6 separate regions of the Homo sapiens genome follow, and regions 1, 3, 4, 5 and 6 are each linked to region 2. The links are contacts of gene promoters, found by promoter capture Hi-C in blood cells and fetal thymus (Javierre and others, 2016). All regions are on one chromosome and are shown on one strand. The core of a region is centred on a gene start or on the middle of the fragment in contact, and the rest is flanking DNA. Distances in the headings are between cores, read along the strand shown.

The links. The method cuts DNA at HindIII sites, captures the fragments that hold promoters and counts their contacts. A CHiCAGO score of 5 or more calls a contact.
Region 1: a contact is called between a fragment that was not itself captured here and the fragment with the promoter of LGI2 in region 2, in 1 of 17 cell types (M1 macrophages). The highest score is 5.2, in M1 macrophages.
Region 3: a fragment that was not itself captured here is called in contact with the fragment with the promoter of LGI2 in region 2 in 1 of 17 cell types (M1 macrophages); the score reaches 5.3 in M1 macrophages.
Region 4: a contact is called between a fragment that was not itself captured here and the fragment with the promoter of LGI2 in region 2, in 1 of 17 cell types (M2 macrophages). The highest score is 6.7, in M2 macrophages.
Region 5: a contact is called between a fragment that was not itself captured here and the fragment with the promoter of LGI2 in region 2, in 1 of 17 cell types (M2 macrophages). The highest score is 6.9, in M2 macrophages.
Region 6: a fragment that was not itself captured here is called in contact with the fragment with the promoter of LGI2 in region 2 in 2 of 17 cell types (M2 macrophages and M1 macrophages); the score reaches 6.2 in M2 macrophages.

The regions. Positions count from the first base shown.
Region 1 is chr4:24,601,219-24,604,103 of GRCh38, reverse strand. No RefSeq gene overlaps it. Among named protein-coding and RNA genes, the nearest start is that of DHX15, 18 kb to the right of the region's middle. The HindIII fragment of the contact is 1,274 bases long and covers 664-1,937 here.
Region 2 is chr4:25,029,512-25,032,313 of GRCh38, reverse strand. LGI2 (leucine rich repeat LGI family member 2) reads left to right here and starts at 1,368. Exons shown (of 8, transcript NM_018176.4): 1 at 1,368-1,817. The coding sequence starts at 1,621. It overlaps LOC124900684 (a long non-coding RNA gene), which reads right to left and starts at 2,206. Exons shown (of 2, transcript XR_007058083.1): 1 at 2,081-2,206. The HindIII fragment of the contact is 5,840 bases long and covers 1-2,091 here.
Region 3 is chr4:24,568,883-24,571,594 of GRCh38, reverse strand. It overlaps DHX15 (DEAH-box helicase 15), which reads left to right. Exons shown (of 14, transcript NM_001358.3): 3 at 748-941. Among named protein-coding and RNA genes, the nearest start is that of DHX15, 14 kb to the left of the region's middle. The HindIII fragment of the contact is 2,716 bases long and covers 1-2,634 here.
Region 4 is chr4:24,528,579-24,531,682 of GRCh38, reverse strand. It overlaps DHX15 (DEAH-box helicase 15), which reads left to right. Exons shown (of 14, transcript NM_001358.3): 13 at 1,913-2,082. Among named protein-coding and RNA genes, the nearest start is that of MIR573, 9.8 kb to the right of the region's middle. The HindIII fragment of the contact is 5,077 bases long and covers 1-3,104 here.
Region 5 is chr4:24,625,520-24,628,219 of GRCh38, reverse strand. No RefSeq gene overlaps it. Among named protein-coding and RNA genes, the nearest start is that of LINC02473, 33 kb to the left of the region's middle. The HindIII fragment of the contact is 7,679 bases long and covers 1-2,700 here.
Region 6 is chr4:24,550,564-24,553,530 of GRCh38, reverse strand. The region is part of intron 5 of DHX15 (DEAH-box helicase 15); the gene reads left to right. Among named protein-coding and RNA genes, the nearest start is that of MIR573, 32 kb to the right of the region's middle. RefSeq lists an enhancer at 1-341. The HindIII fragment of the contact is 3,436 bases long and covers 1-2,967 here.

The DNA.
Region 1 (2,885 bases), core at 51-2,550, 430 kb after region 2:
GAGGTGATTAGATGATGGGGGTGATTTTCTCCATGCTGTTCTCATGATGGTGAGTGAGTTCTCACAGGAGCTGATGGTTTTAAAGTGTGGGAATTGCTTGCTCTCTTTCTCCTGCCACCTTGTGAAGAACACGCTTGCTTGCCCTTCACCTTCTGCCATGATTGTAAGTTTCCCGAGGCCTCCCCAGCCATACAGAACTGTGAGTCAATTAAACATCTTTCCTTTTACCTAGTCTCAGGTAGTATCTTTAAAGCAGTGTGAATCTGAACTAATACACCATCATAGGAAAAGGTTAGGAGTATAGAAAGAAACAACAAAAGATGTAGTAAGAAAAAATATTATTTAAAAAATCCTATCTTTTTTGTACAGAAATCTTAGGACTTTGAGGGGTTCTGCCTCCTATTTGGCTATCTTGGGGACCTCTGTTATGAACATTTATTTTGGCAGGAACTTTTTTACAATGTGTAGTGGATCCATGGCTTGATGCCCGCCAGTTTCAGTGCTGAAATTGGCAGTTAGCAGCACCAGTAGGGCCCTTTCCATTTCTCCTGTAGCTGCTGAGTTGGGCCCGTTCCCATCTACTCTTTAGCAGTACTTGATCACGGGACTGGAAAGAGTGGCGTGGCTCTGCTGAGTTCACAATGCTGTTGTTGAAAGCAAGCTTATGCAAAACGTTACGAATTTGTCCCAAGTGAGTAACACAATGTTTAATAGTTGACTTCTTATTAAGGGGCACCCTAGTAACCCAAAAGGGTCTCTCATGTATCATTTCACAGGACTTAACCTAATCCCACATCTGGGGAGGTCATTCTTACCCAGAGCAATGCAATGCCAAGTACCTGAATTCATTTTGGTTGAGTTTCCTGGCACAGTTTGGCAATAACTGTTTTTAGTGCTGGATTTTCCTTTCAGTCTGTCCAGAAGACTGTGGTCTCCATGCTGAGTATAGTCTGCAATTTATTCCAAGTGCCTTGTTTACCTGGAACAACTGCAGGCTCTTGTAAGGGCAATCAGTTCTGCCTTCTGTGCAGAGGTTCCTAGTGGTAAAGTCCTGGCTTCTGTGACCTCTGAAAACGTTACCATTACATATATAGCATTTCTTTTTCTGTCGGTTACCAGGCTGCTCCCATCCATGAACAATGTCCAGTATGCATATGGCAGGGCTGTGTCCTTTAAATTAGGGTGACTGGAAAACACCTTAGTCAATAATTGGTAAACATTATGCATAAGTTCTTTTGGCTCTTCGGTAGAGGGAAGTAAAGTAGCTGGGTTCAAGGCTCTGGTAACCTGCACTTTTACTGTGGGTTCATCTAGGAGTGTGGCCTGGTATTTGCTCAATCTGCCCACTGTCAGCCAGTAGCCTCCCTTTTGTTCTAGTAACACTAGTACTTGGTGAGGCACGTAGACAGTAACAGGCTGTCCCAAAGTCAACTTTTCAGCCTCCTTTAATAGTAGGCAGGTGGCAGTGACCGCCCTTGAACAGGAGACAGCCTTTGGCCACATTATCCAGTTGTTTAGGAAAGTAAGCCTAGTGGCTGCAAGATTTCTCCTAATTTCTGTGTTAAGGATCCCCAGTGCTAGACCCAGTCTCTCATGCATGTACAATTGAAAAGGCTTATGAGGATTTGGGAGCCCCAGGAATAGGGTGGAGGTTAACTTACATTTCAGTTGTCCAAATGAGTGCTGGTGTTTTGCTCCCAATCGAAGGCATCATTGTTAGGTCCCTTAACAGACTGTATAGCGGCTTCATTGGTAGTTCATAGTTAGGAATCCAGATCTAACAAAACCCTGCCTTGCCTAGAAATCCTCTCAACTACCTTCTGGTAGTGGGTGCTGCAATGGAAGCGATTGCATTTTGTCTTTCCACTATTAGAGCTCTAGCTCCCTCCTGCAAGAGAAAATCTAAGTATGCCACAGTTTGTTGGCATATCTAAGCTTTTTTACTTGAAACCTTATACCCACGGGTGGCTAGGTGGTTAAGAGTTTTAATGGTGTTATTCTGACATTCCCATTCAGAGAGGCTAGGTATTAGTAAATCACCCACATATTGTAACAATACCCCATTTTCCAATTTTAAACTCTTTAAATTTCAAGCCAAGGCTTCCCCAAATATATGTGGAGAGTTTTTAAATCCTAGTGGGAGTGCAGTCCAATGATACTGAAACCACGTTGCGGCTTCAAGATCTATCCATTCAAAGGCAAACAACAGTTGACTTTCTGTGTCTATGGGTATGCAAAAGAAAGCATCTTTTAAATCCAATACTGTCAGCCATTTATAATCTCCAGGAAGAGAAATGAACTTAGTATATGGGTTAGCTACAGTGGGATGTATGTCCTCTACAATATCCCAATTAGGGTCCCTGTGGGGAATTGCCGCCCCCGGATCTGTGTTGTCTGAATTTTCATGATGAAGTCATTGCGCCTCTTCCTTCACTTTATTGAAAACCAGCTGCCGCTCATCTGCAGTGAGCATAATGCTTAGGAGAGCCTGCACATCTGCCCAGGTGGGCACTGTGTAGCAAATACAGTGGTATTATAGGCCCAATAATGTTGGCTGGAGCTCCTTGCTAATTGACTCCTACTGAATATTGTTACAGTGGGAACTTCCCTGCTCCAGACTCAGTGACTCCCTGGCCAAAATTAGTACCTTGCCTAGTCCTAGAGGGAGACAGTAGCCCTGCTGCCTTCCTGTACTCTATGGGTAGCATTCCCTCTCTTTCCTGAGCTGCGGCAGTAGCCACTATGGGGTTTAGGGTATTCATTAACTATTCATTAAATTGGGTTTCAAAGGCTTTCTCTTCCTCCCCTTGTGAGTCAGGACAGACTTGGCAGTGCATTGCCAAGTTAGCTTATTTCCTTTTTCCTTAGCAACATTAATGCCCAGA
Region 2 (2,802 bases), core at 119-2,618:
AACTCCCTCCATGAAGTTGCCTACGCAAAGCTCTCTTTCAATTCCTGAACCTCTTTTGGTCAGTCTGTGACCCCCTTGTAGCCAGTGGAGTTGCTCTTTTAGGGTTGTCTGTCCAGCTAGACTTTTAGCTCCCTGAGGACAGGAGCTGTTCCTTTGTTCCCTCCCACAGCAGCCAGCCTGATACCGTCCTCATGGATCTTGTCAATGGATCACCAACAATAATTGCTGAAGAAGCAATAGTATGATTCCTACTTTTGCATTCGATACTGACTTTTCTGAGTAGGTTTTAGCATCTGGCATGCTTTTCCTTGGTTTGCAGCTCGACAGTCGTGCTGTGATTCCCTTCTCCCAGCAGTTCAGGTTATTAGCCATTACTTTGTTTCCGCTTTGGTCATTTTCTTTGATTTCCTCAGCCGCACATTACCTGTGTTAAGATTTCCGCTCATTGCTTCAAACTTAAGGAGTTGAAGAGGGGCTCAGGAGGGCCCAGTTAAGGTAGCCCTTCAAGGCTCCGAGCCCCATCCTGCCCAGCCAGGAGCTGCTGGACCATCAGCCAGTCAGGATGCTTTCTGGGCGTCAGCAGCCTCATCAATAAATTAAGGATATAAGTAGGACCTGCCTCAAAAGGTTAGAAGATTAAAAGTACAGTGGCTAGAATGTATCACACCCTCAATCTCTACAAACCCTCCTCTGACTGGGGCGGGTGGGGTGACCCGTGGGCAGCTGAGCGAGGGGAAACTTTCCCGGGCTTTCCAGCTCTTTAGCAGGCAGCAGGCAGGGCCCAGAGCGCCGGGCGTGCAGGCTGCAGCGGCTTTGCTTCCCCACGTTCCTCCCATGGGAGGACTGGCTGGCTTCAGTAACCCCTGGTGCTGTGGGAGCGAGAGCCAGACCTCACTGCCCCACCGCAGAAGACAAGCAAAGCCATCCTCGCTGACCCTACCGGCAGCATGCACTTCAAAATTAATAAAGGCTGCTCCAAAGTCTCTCCTCTTCAAAGCACCCAGGGCTGCCTCCCTCCCCAGTAATCAAGCCGGTTCTCCACACTCCCCGCTCCGACTTTATTGATTTGCCTGAAAGGAACCCAGTGCCCTCCCCAGATTATACCCCTGGAGGTATTGCAGGCATCGGATCCTCCACCGCTCAGTCAGGCCCCGACGGGGGTCTCCGCCAGGCTTGGCCCCTCCCCCAAGGTCACCCAACTTTTCCCTCTGTCCCCGCGCCCGGCCCGGGGCGAGAGGGGGTGGCGAGGTGGGGGCCGGGTGGGGCGCCACGGGGCCGGCGCTGGCCCCCTCCCCCGCGGGGCGGGCCCCGCCATGCATTATTCATTGGCCAGAGCCGGGCTGCGGGCGCGAGTGCTGATGTCAGGCAGGCGCGAGTGCGGCGGGCGCAGCGGCGGCGGCCGCCCAGCAGCCCGGGCTCGGGTGGGGGGGCGCCGAGTGGGGGTGGCGGCCAGCATGCTGCTCGGCTGCGGCTCGGCCTCCCACACCCGCGGCTCCCTAGTCCTCGCCAGCAGCGGCGGCGGCAGAGCAGCGAGCGGCGCCCGCGTCTGCAGCGGCGCCGGGTCCGAGCGCGCGGCGCGGCGGTGGGGGTCGGGGCCCGGGCGGGGAGCGGGGACCGGGCATGGCGCTGCGGAGAGGCGGCTGCGGAGCGCTCGGGCTGCTGCTGCTGCTGCTGGGCGCCGCGTGCCTGATACCGCGGAGCGCGCAGGTGAGGCGGCTGGCGCGCTGCCCCGCCACTTGCAGCTGTACCAAGGAGTCTATCATCTGCGTGGGCTCTTCCTGGGTGCCCAGGATCGTGCCGGGCGACATCAGCTCCCTGTGAGTGGGACCCCTCCAGCCCCCATCCCGTCCCGCCCCACCCTGCGTCCGCCGCCGCGAGGGAGTTGCCTCTGGCGCCGGGCCAGCGCGACCCTGACCCACTCCCCAGGCCCCTTCTTTGCCTTTGTGTGGGGGACGTGGGTGGAGTGTTGGCCCCCGGGGAGGACGGTGAGGACCTGAGCCCCAGAATCTGGGAACCCAGACAGGTTCCTGTGGCAGCGTTTCTCAGAGTGTGGCCCACGGGCCACCTGCATCAGACTCACCTGGGGAAGCTTGTGCCAATGCAGAATCCAGCTGCTCTGAAGCAGTCTTTGGAGTGGAGTCCTGGAGTGTGCGTTTGACGTCCCCGGGAGACTCAAGGGTGCATTAAAGTTTGAGAGGGCGTGTGCGTGTGTGTGTGTGTGTTTGCGGGTTGGAGTTGTGTGTGTAGGGGCGTGCATAGGAGCAGCTGAACACGACCTGACTGAGTGCAAACTGGGCAGGGTGAGGCCTCACTGCCCCACATCAGGTCTGGGGCGAATGTTCACCCCGTGGCCTCCTCCCGACTTCTCCACATTGCAGGTTGCAAAAAGTCGAGGTCAAGGCATGCAGGCTCTGGGAGGGGAGGGGCCGCCCCCCGTGGCCTAGAAGAGGGGTAACAGAAGGCTGGGCAGAGGTTTGGGGCATGTTGGGCGCCTAGCCCAGTGGCCAAGTGCTTTGAAGTCAGCCTTCTTGCCCTGAGGTCAGGAGGGCTTCTTGCCCCCTTTCTCCATCACACAGTTGTGTTGGCTGCTTTTTCAGCAGGAGGAACTGACAGGAAAGGGCTTCACATTAGGTATCCACCTGCCGAGAGGTGCTTTCATCCTGCCCTCACCTGGCCACTCAAGCCAAATGACCAGCTCTCACAAGGGCGGTGGAAGGGGCTGTTGGGCTGTATCTTTACTGCTAGGACATGTTTCCTGCTAAGACCACTCTCTTGTTCCAGGCCAAGATGCCTGGGTGCCCA
Region 3 (2,712 bases), core at 27-2,526, 460 kb after region 2:
CCAGTTAAGTGACTGGAAAACTGTAAAATTGGGGAATCCATTAGCTTATATTGATAATGGAACTGGGGGAAAATGTACTGCCGTCATGGCAACCAATTTAACTTGTGCTTGGGGGTCCCCCAACCCTTTGGCTGCCCTTAACGAAGTGGTGCTGCTCTAGGTCCTGTTAAATTTGAGACTGGCAGTTCTTAAAATTGATTTTAAGATGGTACCTAAGGTGCTACCATTGTGCATACTGCTCCTGAGGGGGAAAGGATAGGATTACAAAAGAGTTGGGTGCTAAGAGTTAGGTTCTGCTGGCTTATAAACCAAATTTGAATTGAATTAAATAAAAGTACAGCTTCAGAGTTACAAGGGGGTATGATTTCCACTTGATTTTGCAACTCAAATTATGTAAGAATTTAAAAGTTACACTTTCTTAGAAACGTTTGTTATAAAGTAGAATTTGTTGTAAGTTGGATTTTTTAAAATTGCATAGAGAAATACTTCATGATGGGATAGTCACACTGTCGAGTGTATTCCTGATTGTGTCTACCCAACTTGGGTGTGTGTCATATCAGTATTACACATAACTGTTCCTTGGTTTAGAGAGCTTGTGTTGTTACAAGTTTTGAATCACAAGTCTTATAGTCATTTGCCTAATTGGATTTGGTTTTAAATCATTAGAATGAGATAAAGTGCTTTATGTTACATATACTTGATATGCAGGCAGAATAGAATTAATTTAAATGTGAAATTATTTGATAGATTCCACAGTGGTGTGTGGAGTACATGCGATCATTACCAGGACCCAAGAGAGGAGTTGCCTGTACCCAACCCAGGAGAGTGGCTGCAATGAGTGTGGCTCAGAGAGTTGCTGATGAGATGGATGTGATGTTGGGCCAGGAAGTTGGTTACTCCATTCGATTTGAAGACTGCAGTAGTGCAAAAACCATTCTTAAGTAAGTACTATATCTTTAATGACGCTTTTAGTCCTCTGCTTGCCATTTTCTGCTATTAGATAGAAGACTTTGCTAGTGCAGGCTTATGTCATCCAAATTTAGAATTATCCAAAGTAGGCCTTCTTAGACTTACCACATGACCTTAGTTTAATTATATATTATTGGTAATCTATAGTTACTTGGTAGAAATTGAAGTTCAAAGGTCAGATTTTAGTTACTTGGTTCTGCATTTTAGGTGAAATGTTACTGATACTGTAAAATGTGTGGTTTTAGTAGACACAATGGTGTATGACTTAATTGTGAAAGAAAAGGAAAGTGATATGTCTTACTTAGTAAAAGATAACTACTTTTAGAAAGAAGAATGTATAGGATGGGATGTGATTTATTTAGGGGAGAGGGGACTTTTAATGTTAATTATGCAGCTATTACCGTGCATCTGTTATAAGCTAAAAAGAGGAATCTTTTGTTCTGTAATACACTGTTAGAGCTGCCTCTAGGTCCTTGTTCCTCTATAGCTATGGTGCAGATAATTGACTACTGTATTGAGCTTTCTAATGTTTTAACTCTACCAACTTTTTATTGTCTTATACTTGCATTCTGCATAAGTTATGATGTATGCTACCTGATGATGATTCTTTCTCAAGTCTTCCCTCTGGTTGCTTCTGCTTATTCTGTATTTATGTGATATTTAAGTCCTTTTAAATGTGACTTGTTTGAGTGGGGCTCAGTGGCATATGCCTGTTTATTCCCAGCCACTTCGTAGGCTGAAGCAGGATTATTGCTTGAGGCCAGGAGTTCAAGGCTACAGTGTGCTCTGATCATGCCTGTGATAGCTACTGCATTTGAACCTGAGCAACATAGCAAGACCACATTTCTTTTAAAAAAAAAGAAAAATCATATCTATGTGATCTTCTCCCTGAGGTTTTTAAAAACCATTTTGGAGCGTTGTGTAGGCAGTGATATGAGTCTTTGTTGTCAGAGTCTTTGTTGTCAGAGAGATATATAGTGTTAATGGGATAAATGAAACAAGAGTCTCTCTTTTTTTTTTTTTTTTTTTTTTTTGAGATGGAGTCTCACTCTGTTGCCCAGGCTGGAGTGCAGTGGCGCCATCTCGGCTCTCTGCAACCTCCGCCTCCCGGGTTCAAGCGATTCTCCTGCCTCAGCCTCTCAGGTAGCTGGGACTATAGGTGTGCGCCACCATGCCTGGCTAACTTTTTGTATCTTTAGTAGAGTTGTGGTTTCACTATGTTGGCCAGGCTGGTCTCTAACTCCTGACCTCATGATCCGCCCGCCTCAGCCTCCCACAGTGCTGGGATTACAGGCGTGAGCCACTACACCCAGCCGCAGAAATTGAATAGAATAATGAACTGCATGTGTTTATCATCGACTTTTAACTATTTCAGTCTTATTTATTTCATATCCAATCTTAATTTATTTCCCTGTCCCATGTTATTTCGAAGCAGTCTTAGATACCAAATAATTATATATATAAATATTTCAGTGTGTATCTCTGAGATAGTTTCTTAAAATAGAGCTATCATAACTTAAAACAATTTATTGGATCAAAATATCCAGTTTTCATTCAACATTTGTGTCAGTTTTTTCTAATTCTTTGATTTATCTCATTTTATTAGAACTTTTTATTCAGCGTGATATTTAATAGCAGTTGAACTTTAAAATATTTAAATAAGCTTATCCTTATGACTTTATGGGACATATTTTTGGCTTAAACCTTAATCTTCACTGAATAAATTCTTGTAGTTGTTCAGTG
Region 4 (3,104 bases), core at 85-2,584, 500 kb after region 2:
CAGTGGTGCAATCACGGCTCACTGCAGCTTTTACCTCCCTGGGCTCTGGTGATCCTCCCACCTCAGACTCCTGAGTTCCTGGGACTACAGGCACGCACCACTATGCCTAGCTAATTTTTGCCTTTTTGTGTGTGTAGAGAGAGGGCCTCGCCACGTTGCCCAGGCTGATCTTGAACTTCTGGCTTCAAATGATCCTCCTACCTCGACCTCCCAAAGTGCTGAGATTACAGACGTGAGCCACCAGGCCTGGGTTGACATGTTCTTAAATTTGCTTTTTATATTTCAGAAAAAAACTGGCCGGGCGCTGTGGCTCACGCCTGTAATCCCAGCACTTTGGGAGGCCGAGGCGGGTGGATCACGAGGTCAAGAGATCGAGACCATCCTGGCTAACATGGTGAAACCCCGTCTCTACTAAAAATACAAAAAATTAGCCGGGCGCGGTGGCGGGTGCCTGTAGTCCCAGCTACTCGGGAGGCTGAGGCAGGAGAACGGCGTAAACCTGGGAGGCAGAGCTTGCAGTGAGCCGAGATAGCGCCACTGCACTCCAGCCTGGGCGACAGAGCGAGACTCCGTCTCAAAAAAAAAAAAAAAATTGATGAAACTATATTCAAGCATTATACTTCTTAATTATGTAGATTAAAATTTGTTACAAACAGCTAGGCACCACAGAGTGTGCTTGTAGTCCTAGCTACTAGAGAAGTTGAGTGGAGAGCAAGGAGCGTTGAAGCCAGCCCAGGCAACATAGGAAAACCCTATCTCTTTTTAAAAACAAACAAAAAATTTATTAGAAACAGCATGCATTATAGTACCTGACACCTAATAGGTGTTTAGTAAATATTTCGAATGAAATTGAGTTTCTTTTCTATTATTCATGCTCATTCTTTAAGCACAGAATATTAGAATTGGAAAGGGAGAACTGTCCATTTTGATGAGTATCACCAGTCAAGGTGTTACCAAAAAAAGAAATGAGAGGGAAGCACGTGCAAGCTCTTTTTTTTTTCCCATTTTTATTTTCCTGTCTTTGTAGGTTACCTTTTTCTTTTCCTCTTTGCCCTCTTTAGTTTTCTACCTTATTTTTTATTCTATTTCTTTATTTTCTTTTTTGAAATGGAGCCTCTCGGTCTGTCGCCCAGGCTGGAGTGCAGTGACTTGATCTCAGCTCACTGCAACCTCCGCCTCCTGGGTTCAGGCAATTCTCCTGCCTCAGCCTCCTGAGTAGCTGGGATACAGACACCCGCCACCACGCTTGTCTAATTTTTGTACTTTTAGTAGAGATGAGGTTTCACCGTGTTGGCCAGGCTGGTCTCGAACTCCTGACCTCAGGTGATCTGCCTGTCTCAGCCTCCCAAAGTGCTGGGATTACTGCACCTGGCTTTAGTTTTCTACCTTAGACATGAATGTTCTGGTAATTGTCTGCTCATAGTTGGCGCCCAGTGCTGAAGAGCCTGCTCTAGATGGTCTCAGGCAGGAAAGATCAGATAGTAAATGTTGGGCTCTGTGGACCCATGAAGTCCTTGTCAAAACTACCTAACACTGCCTGCTCTTGGAGCATAATAGGTATAGACAAATGGGCATGCCTGTGTTCTAATAAAACTTTCCTTATGGATACTGAAGTTTGAATTTTACATGCTACTCATGCTTCACGGAATGTTTTTTGTATGATATTTTTTCTTTCTAATTAAAGATAAATAAACCATTTTGGATTCACAGACCTTACAAATAGAGGCTATGAGTTGGATTTGGCCCACAGGCAGCAGTTTGCTTATCTCTGCTTTTATCAGACAGTGATAAATAAGTATAGCCATAGAATGAAAAGTAAAAGGGAGGCCTGCCTCTTCCTAATTATGTAGGTAGCTTTACAACTAGCAAGTCAGAAGCATTGTATTAATAATATACTGGGTTTTGGTTTCAGGTGGCACATTTAGAACGAACAGGGCATTACTTAACTGTGAAAGATAACCAGGTGGTTCAGTTGCATCCCTCTACTGTTCTTGACCACAAACCTGAATGGGTGCTTTATAATGAGTTTGTTCTAACAACAAAGAATTACATCCGGACATGTACAGATATCAAGCCAGAATGGTAAGTACACCTTTTGTTCTAACAGTTTTTTGTTAGTACTTTGCTCAAAATGGAACCTGACTGTTGCTAGAGTCATGGCCTTGCATTCACTCATTGAGAATTTATATTTCAGTGTGTAGGTATGAGGGAATTGACTGGATGGTGTGATTAATCTTTCACACCCTTCCTTTGTTAAGTGGACAGTGGGATTGTTGATATTTATGGGCAGGATTTGAAGCCAAATGTGAAGTTACATTTGAATAGCATGAAAAGTTTCTTCAGGGGCTGGGCATGGTGGCTCACACCTGTAATCCCAGGACTCTGGGAGGCCAGGATGGGAGGATCACTTGAAGCCAGGGGTTCAAGACCAGCCTGTGCAATATAGCCAGAATCCATCTCTACTAAAAGATATATAGGTGTGTACAAAAATTAGCTGGGCATGGTGGTGCTGCACGTCTATAGTCCCAGCTACTGGGGAAGCTGGGCAGGAGGATTGCTTGAGCCCAGGAGTTTGAGGTTGCAGTGAGCTATGATCATGCCACTGTACTCCAGCCTGGGTGACAGTGAGACCCTGTCTCTCAGACATACTTTTAAAAAAGGGTTTTTTTTTAATTTTTTTAATTTTTAGAGTTTCTTTGGAGCCATTCTCTTGCTGTTGTGATTCTCAAGTCAGTACTGTTTCTTGCTTGCAGAAATCTGTTTTTTTTTGTTTTGTTTTGTTTTTTAACATTTTTTTTGTCCCATTACAATTAGCCCTCAACTATTTATTATTTATATATTGGTTTTTAGGAACTGTGCAGGCATAAAAATGATAGCTCTTTGTGTTTTAACATACTAGCTTCTACAAAATGTAGAGTAAGAACGGATTGTTTTATTTTAAGCAAAATAACCCTCACCTTCATGGTTTTTTGTTTTATTTATGCCAGAATCTATTCTATAACCTATGACAGGAAATGTCAGCCAAGAGTAGTGGGACTGAAGGCACATATTCTAGGTGCTGTCACCGCTTTATATTGTGCAGCTGCTTTCTTATACGGATTTGG
Region 5 (2,700 bases), core at 163-2,662, 400 kb after region 2:
TTACTACTTTTTTAAATTTAACACCTTATCATGTGCATCTCTACAAATATGCAGATATGGATTCAACTCTAGCTTTTTCTCCTCTCATGTATATTATATCATATATATACACACACATTATACGTGTGTATTATATTTTAGGTATATATGCATATAATGTATTATATACATATTAATATGTAAATATATTAACAGAATATCATTATGGTAGCTAAAAAAATTAGATCCAATTTTTCTTCTACCCTTCTCCTTTCAGATTTTACCCAAATCTCACACCCTCACACACAACTCGACAAAATTCCTGTTAACAATCCAATGTAGAGCATTCCAAACTTTTTTCCCAAACTCATGTAATTATAAGTAGAAGTTTGTACACAAATATACATGTTTACACATACATACACACACACACACACTCATCCATACACAGTCATGTGCTGCATAACCACATTTCGGTCAATGACAAACCACATATACAACACTGGCCCCAAAGAAACAAAGAATTATAATGCCATATTTTTGCTGTACGTTTTGTATGTTTAGGTACACAGTTGTGTTACAATTATCTATAGTTTTCAGTACAATAACATGTTATACAAGTTTGTAGCCTAGGAGCCACAGACCACACCATATAGCCTAAGTGTGCAGTAGTAGCCTCTACCACCTAGGTTGATGTAAGTACACTCTATGATATTCACGTAACAACAAAATTGCTTAACAATGCATTTTGAGAAAGCATCCCCATCCTTAAGTGATGCATGACTGAATACTGTTTATTACTGGAAACCATAATATACACCATTCTTGGCATCTTGCCTTTCTCACTCAACACCTTGTAGCAATCCTTCTAATTCATATGCAGTAGTTCTAATTCCTTCTTCTTAGTAACTGCATAGTATTTTTTTTTTTGAGACAGGGTCCCACTCAGTTACCCAGGCTGTAGTGCAATGATGTGTTCATGGCTCTCTGCAGCCCCAACCTCCTGGGCTCAAGTGATCCTCCCACCTCAGCCTCCCTAGTAGCTGGAACTATAGGCATGCACCACCATGCCTAGCTAATTTTTATATTTTTGGTAGAGACGAGGTCTTGCTATGTTGCCCAGGCTGGTTTTGAACTCCTGGGCTCAAATGATCCACCTACCTCAGCCTCCCAAAGAGCTGGGTTTCCAGGCATGAGCCACCACACCCGGCCAACTGCATAGTATTTTATGATGCAAATACACACACATTTATTCAGCCATTCCCTTATGGATGTATATTGACTTTGTTTTTAGGTTTTTGTTACTATAATTCTGCAATAAACAACTTTACATATAGCTCTCCATATTGATTATTTTATTTTTACTGACTACAATCCCAGGAGTGCAATCATTGGGTTAAAGGGTATGAGGATTCTTTATTATAATGGATGCTGCTTGGCATTTGTTTTTCTCAAAATGTGACAATTCACATTTTCACAAGTAATGCATGAGATTGGAATAGATAATATCATTCTTTTTAACTTCTGCCAATCTGTTGCATGTAGAGTAATATCTCATTATTATTTTAATTTGCAATTCCCTGGCTGCCACTGAGTTGGGTACCTTTTCATATGTTTACCAGCCATTTGGATTTGCTATTCGGTTTATTTCCTTTTTCATACTTATTGACCTTTTTAAAAATTGGAATGGTTTATCTTTTTCTTATCAATTTGCAAGAATTTGTTATATATAAGAAATATTAACCCAATATCTGTTATCTACATTGTACATATTTTTCTAAATGCATTTTGACTCTTGACTTTGTTTGGGTACCTTTCACCATATAAAGGTTTGAAATTTTTATGTAATCAAATATGTCTACCTTTTATACTTTCCAGGTTTCTGGTTTTAGTTTAAAAGATGTTCTCTGTCCCCTAGATTTGCATGTAGTCACCTAAATATTTTTTTTAAACTTATTGTTTACATTTATGTTTTTAATCCATTTGGAATTTATTTTTGGATTTGTTGTGAAATTGAGATACAAGTTCATTTTGCTCCAGAAGAATAGGCAGTTATGCCAGCAATACTTATTAAGTAAGCCATTCTTTCCCACAGAATTGAAATACTACCTTTGTCACATATTAAATTATGATATATACTGAGATCTATTTTTGGATCCACTCTTCTGTTCCACTGATTTGTCTACTCTTATGCCAATACCACGTTGATTGTATTCCAGTGATTTTTATTACAGTGGCTTTCAGTTGAAGGCAAGTCTCTCATTATTTATCTTCTGCATATTTTCTTTGTTATTCAGGCACTTACATTTCCATGTGGCTTTTAAAATAATTTTATCCAACGCATTCTACCCCCCAAAAAGAGAACTATTAGGATAATACATGGAATTTTGCTATATTTATTTAGGGGAATATTATTAGTTTTTCAATCTGTAAAAATTTTAGTCTTTCTTTCTTAACATTTATTATATCTTAAAAATTAGCAATAATTTCTTGATATGATTAAATATCTAGTCACTGCTTAAATTTCCCCAATTGTCTCAGGATAGTTTAATTTATTTTTTAGACTTAGGATCTAAATAGGCTATAAATTTCAGTTGGTAGTGATAGGTGTTTAAATCTTTTTTAATCTGTTGACACCTCCTTCGTTATGTGTTTTCTTGCAATTTACTGAAGAAAACAGGTTGTCCGGCAGCATTTTCCTAACCTGAATTTTGATAATTG
Region 6 (2,967 bases), core at 83-2,582, 480 kb after region 2:
AAGTGCTGGGATTATAGGCGCGAGCCACCACACCTGGCCCCAAAATGCTTTTTTGATGGCATATAAACAGCATTTGTGCTGTAATGTAGTATTGAGGCTGTTGGGATAATCGTTTTGTCCTCTTGTGTCTGGTCTCTAGTTTCTCATTTCCTCCAAAGTGCATAGTATATTTTTATTTTTATTTATTTTGTTTTATTATTTATTTATTTGAGATGGAGTTTTGCTCTTGTTGCCCAGGCTGGAGTGCAGTGGCGCGATCTCGGCTCACCGCAACCTCTGCCTCCCAGGTTCAGGTGATTCTCCTGCCTCAGCCTTCCGAGTAGCTGGGATTACAGGCATGCGCCACCATGCCCAACTAATTGGTATTTTTGGTAGAGATGGGGTTTCTCCGTGTTGGTCAGGCTGGTCTTGAACTCCCAACTTCAGGTGATCCACCCGCCTCGGCCTCCCAAAGTGCTGGGATTACAGGCGTGAGCCACTGCACCTGGCCATATTTTTATTTTTTAAATCACTATTTAAAATTGTCATCATTCTCAGATAACATAAGCGTATTGAGATTCTATCAGAAATATCAAATGGCCTCATGGTTAAGGACCCGAAAGGTTTTTCTCTGAGACAACTTTGTGCGGTATTTTCTGTGAATCCCACAGCTGGGGAAAGGAAGGGAGTAAGCCGAAGGGTTTTCAGATGTATGCTAGAGTGTCTTTCATGAAATAAAATGCTGCTCTAGTTGTCAGCTGTTTTTTTGCATACCATTGCTTCTTTAAGTTATCTTTAGATTCCCAGTCTTGAATTTGAAGAGTTTTGGGGAGAAGGTAGCAGAAAACCTAACGTTTTGTTTACATTTCATTTGTTGTATTTAGTAGTAGAGCTGGTCTAAAGTAAATATTACCTTCTCATTTTTGTGAACCTTCATTATTTTTACTTGGTAAGTTAAATGCAACTGCGAAATCAGTACTCCTTTCTTCATAAATTTGAATAGCCTCCATGAAATTGAGTAATCTCATAAAAATTTAAAACTGGTTTTTAAGAACATATTCTGACCACTAAATAAAAGTGCTTCTGTAGTCACATGAGTTAATTTGGGAGGGAGAGAGAACAGTTTAAAGTGTTGCCTAGATAGTAATTAGATAAGAGTGATTGTAATTAAATAATTTTATTTTTAATTTTGCTTAGTAAATTTTTTTTTCAACATGCAGTGAGTTAATTGGTAAGGTCCAGATTAATTTACTAACATATTGCTGCTTTTGGAGTTAAAAATCTTTTCTCAAATCAAAAACTCCTGAACTGTCTGTCTTTATTCTCAGTATTGCTAATGACTAAGCAGATGGCTGCTGTTGAAACTTCTTTTCCTCCACTACCTGTTTCTGTTTATATTCTGATGAATGCAGATAAGTTTTGTGGCATTCTCAGCTGATAGTGTTGACTTCTTGGAAGTTTGGCAAACCTCAGGGAAAATTTTTATTGCAAGTTTTAAAGCTGTTTAGGACTTTATCTAAAAACTTAAGTGTTACGGGATTTCTTCCACATTTTAGAGATGCCTTTATATCCTACATAGTCATCATTTTGTTTTAGCTCCTTGCATACTTAGCAGATTGGGTAGTCTAATCTCCAGTAAAGTTGGAATTGTCATTTTAAAATACTGGAATCACAAAGCAAATGTCTAATTTAAGCACTTAATTTTTAATGTGTGAAATCTGGATATTTTGTGATTTCTGAGCATTTATTTTTCATTTATGTACAGTAAAATTAACAAAATTGCAGATACTCTTAAATGTTGGAATCCTAGTTTTATATTATGTTCAAATGTTTTTTAAGTTGGAGAGCTCTTAATTTTTTATTTGCATGCCAGCAGGGGGCATTCTAATCTAGATACAACATTTGAAAGCAGTATTTTCAAAAAATATTTGTTCGCTTTGTTATATTTTTTATTTAGATGAATAGCATCTACTTTCATTTTCTTTTAGAAACTTGAGATTTCAAAGGAGGATCTAGTAACATTGAATCTTTAATAGTTTTCTGTGTCACAATTTTTGAGACAGATAACCTTTAAAAAAAACTGATGTGTTTGAAATAAGTGAAAAGTAATTTATTTGTTCTTACTGTGTTTAAGAACGTTGTGTTTTTTGATATAGAGACACAGTTGGACATTAAAAAAATATAAAGTAAATGTCCTAAAATTCTTCCTCACCGTTTAGTATCATTGTCCTTTGAAAAAAACACGCACTTTGTTGACAAGGGTAGCTTCTGATTGGGTCATTTATTGGACAGGCTGCCTAGTGTATAATAAGCGTTTTACATACTTCTGGGTTTAATTGAATTAATACTTCAATAAAATTTAGAATACATTTGTCCGCAGTGCTGCCTTCCATTTTTAAGTTCCTTTGCCTCTCCCAGAGCTATCATACATAATCTGTCTCTCTCTTTTTTTCCGTCTTGATATTCATTATGTCTCCTCTTGAATGCACATGTGTTAGAATATAGTCATGTGCCACATAACAACGTTTTGGTCAAGACAAACTTCTCAGATAGCTGTGGTGCTGCTCCCGTAAGATTATAGTGGAGCTGAACGTAACCTTGCAGCATCACAGCACAACACATTACTCACTGCTTTGTGATGATGCTAGTTCAAACAAACCTACTTTGCTGCCAGTTGTTTTAAAAGTACTATATAGTATGTACAATTATGTCCAGTACATAATAATAATGATAATAGGACATTGTTAGTGGTTTTTGTATTTACTATACTACATGTTTTATCATTATTTTAGAGTGTTCTCCTTCGACTTAAAAATGTTAACTGTAAAACAGGCTTAGGCAGGTCCTTCAGGAGGTGTTCTAGGAGAAGGCATTGTTATCACAGGAGATGACAGCTCCATGTGTGTTACTGGCCTTTGGAGACCTTCCAGTGGGTTAATACGTTAAGGTGGAAGATAGTGATATTGATGATCCTGACCCTGTGGGGGC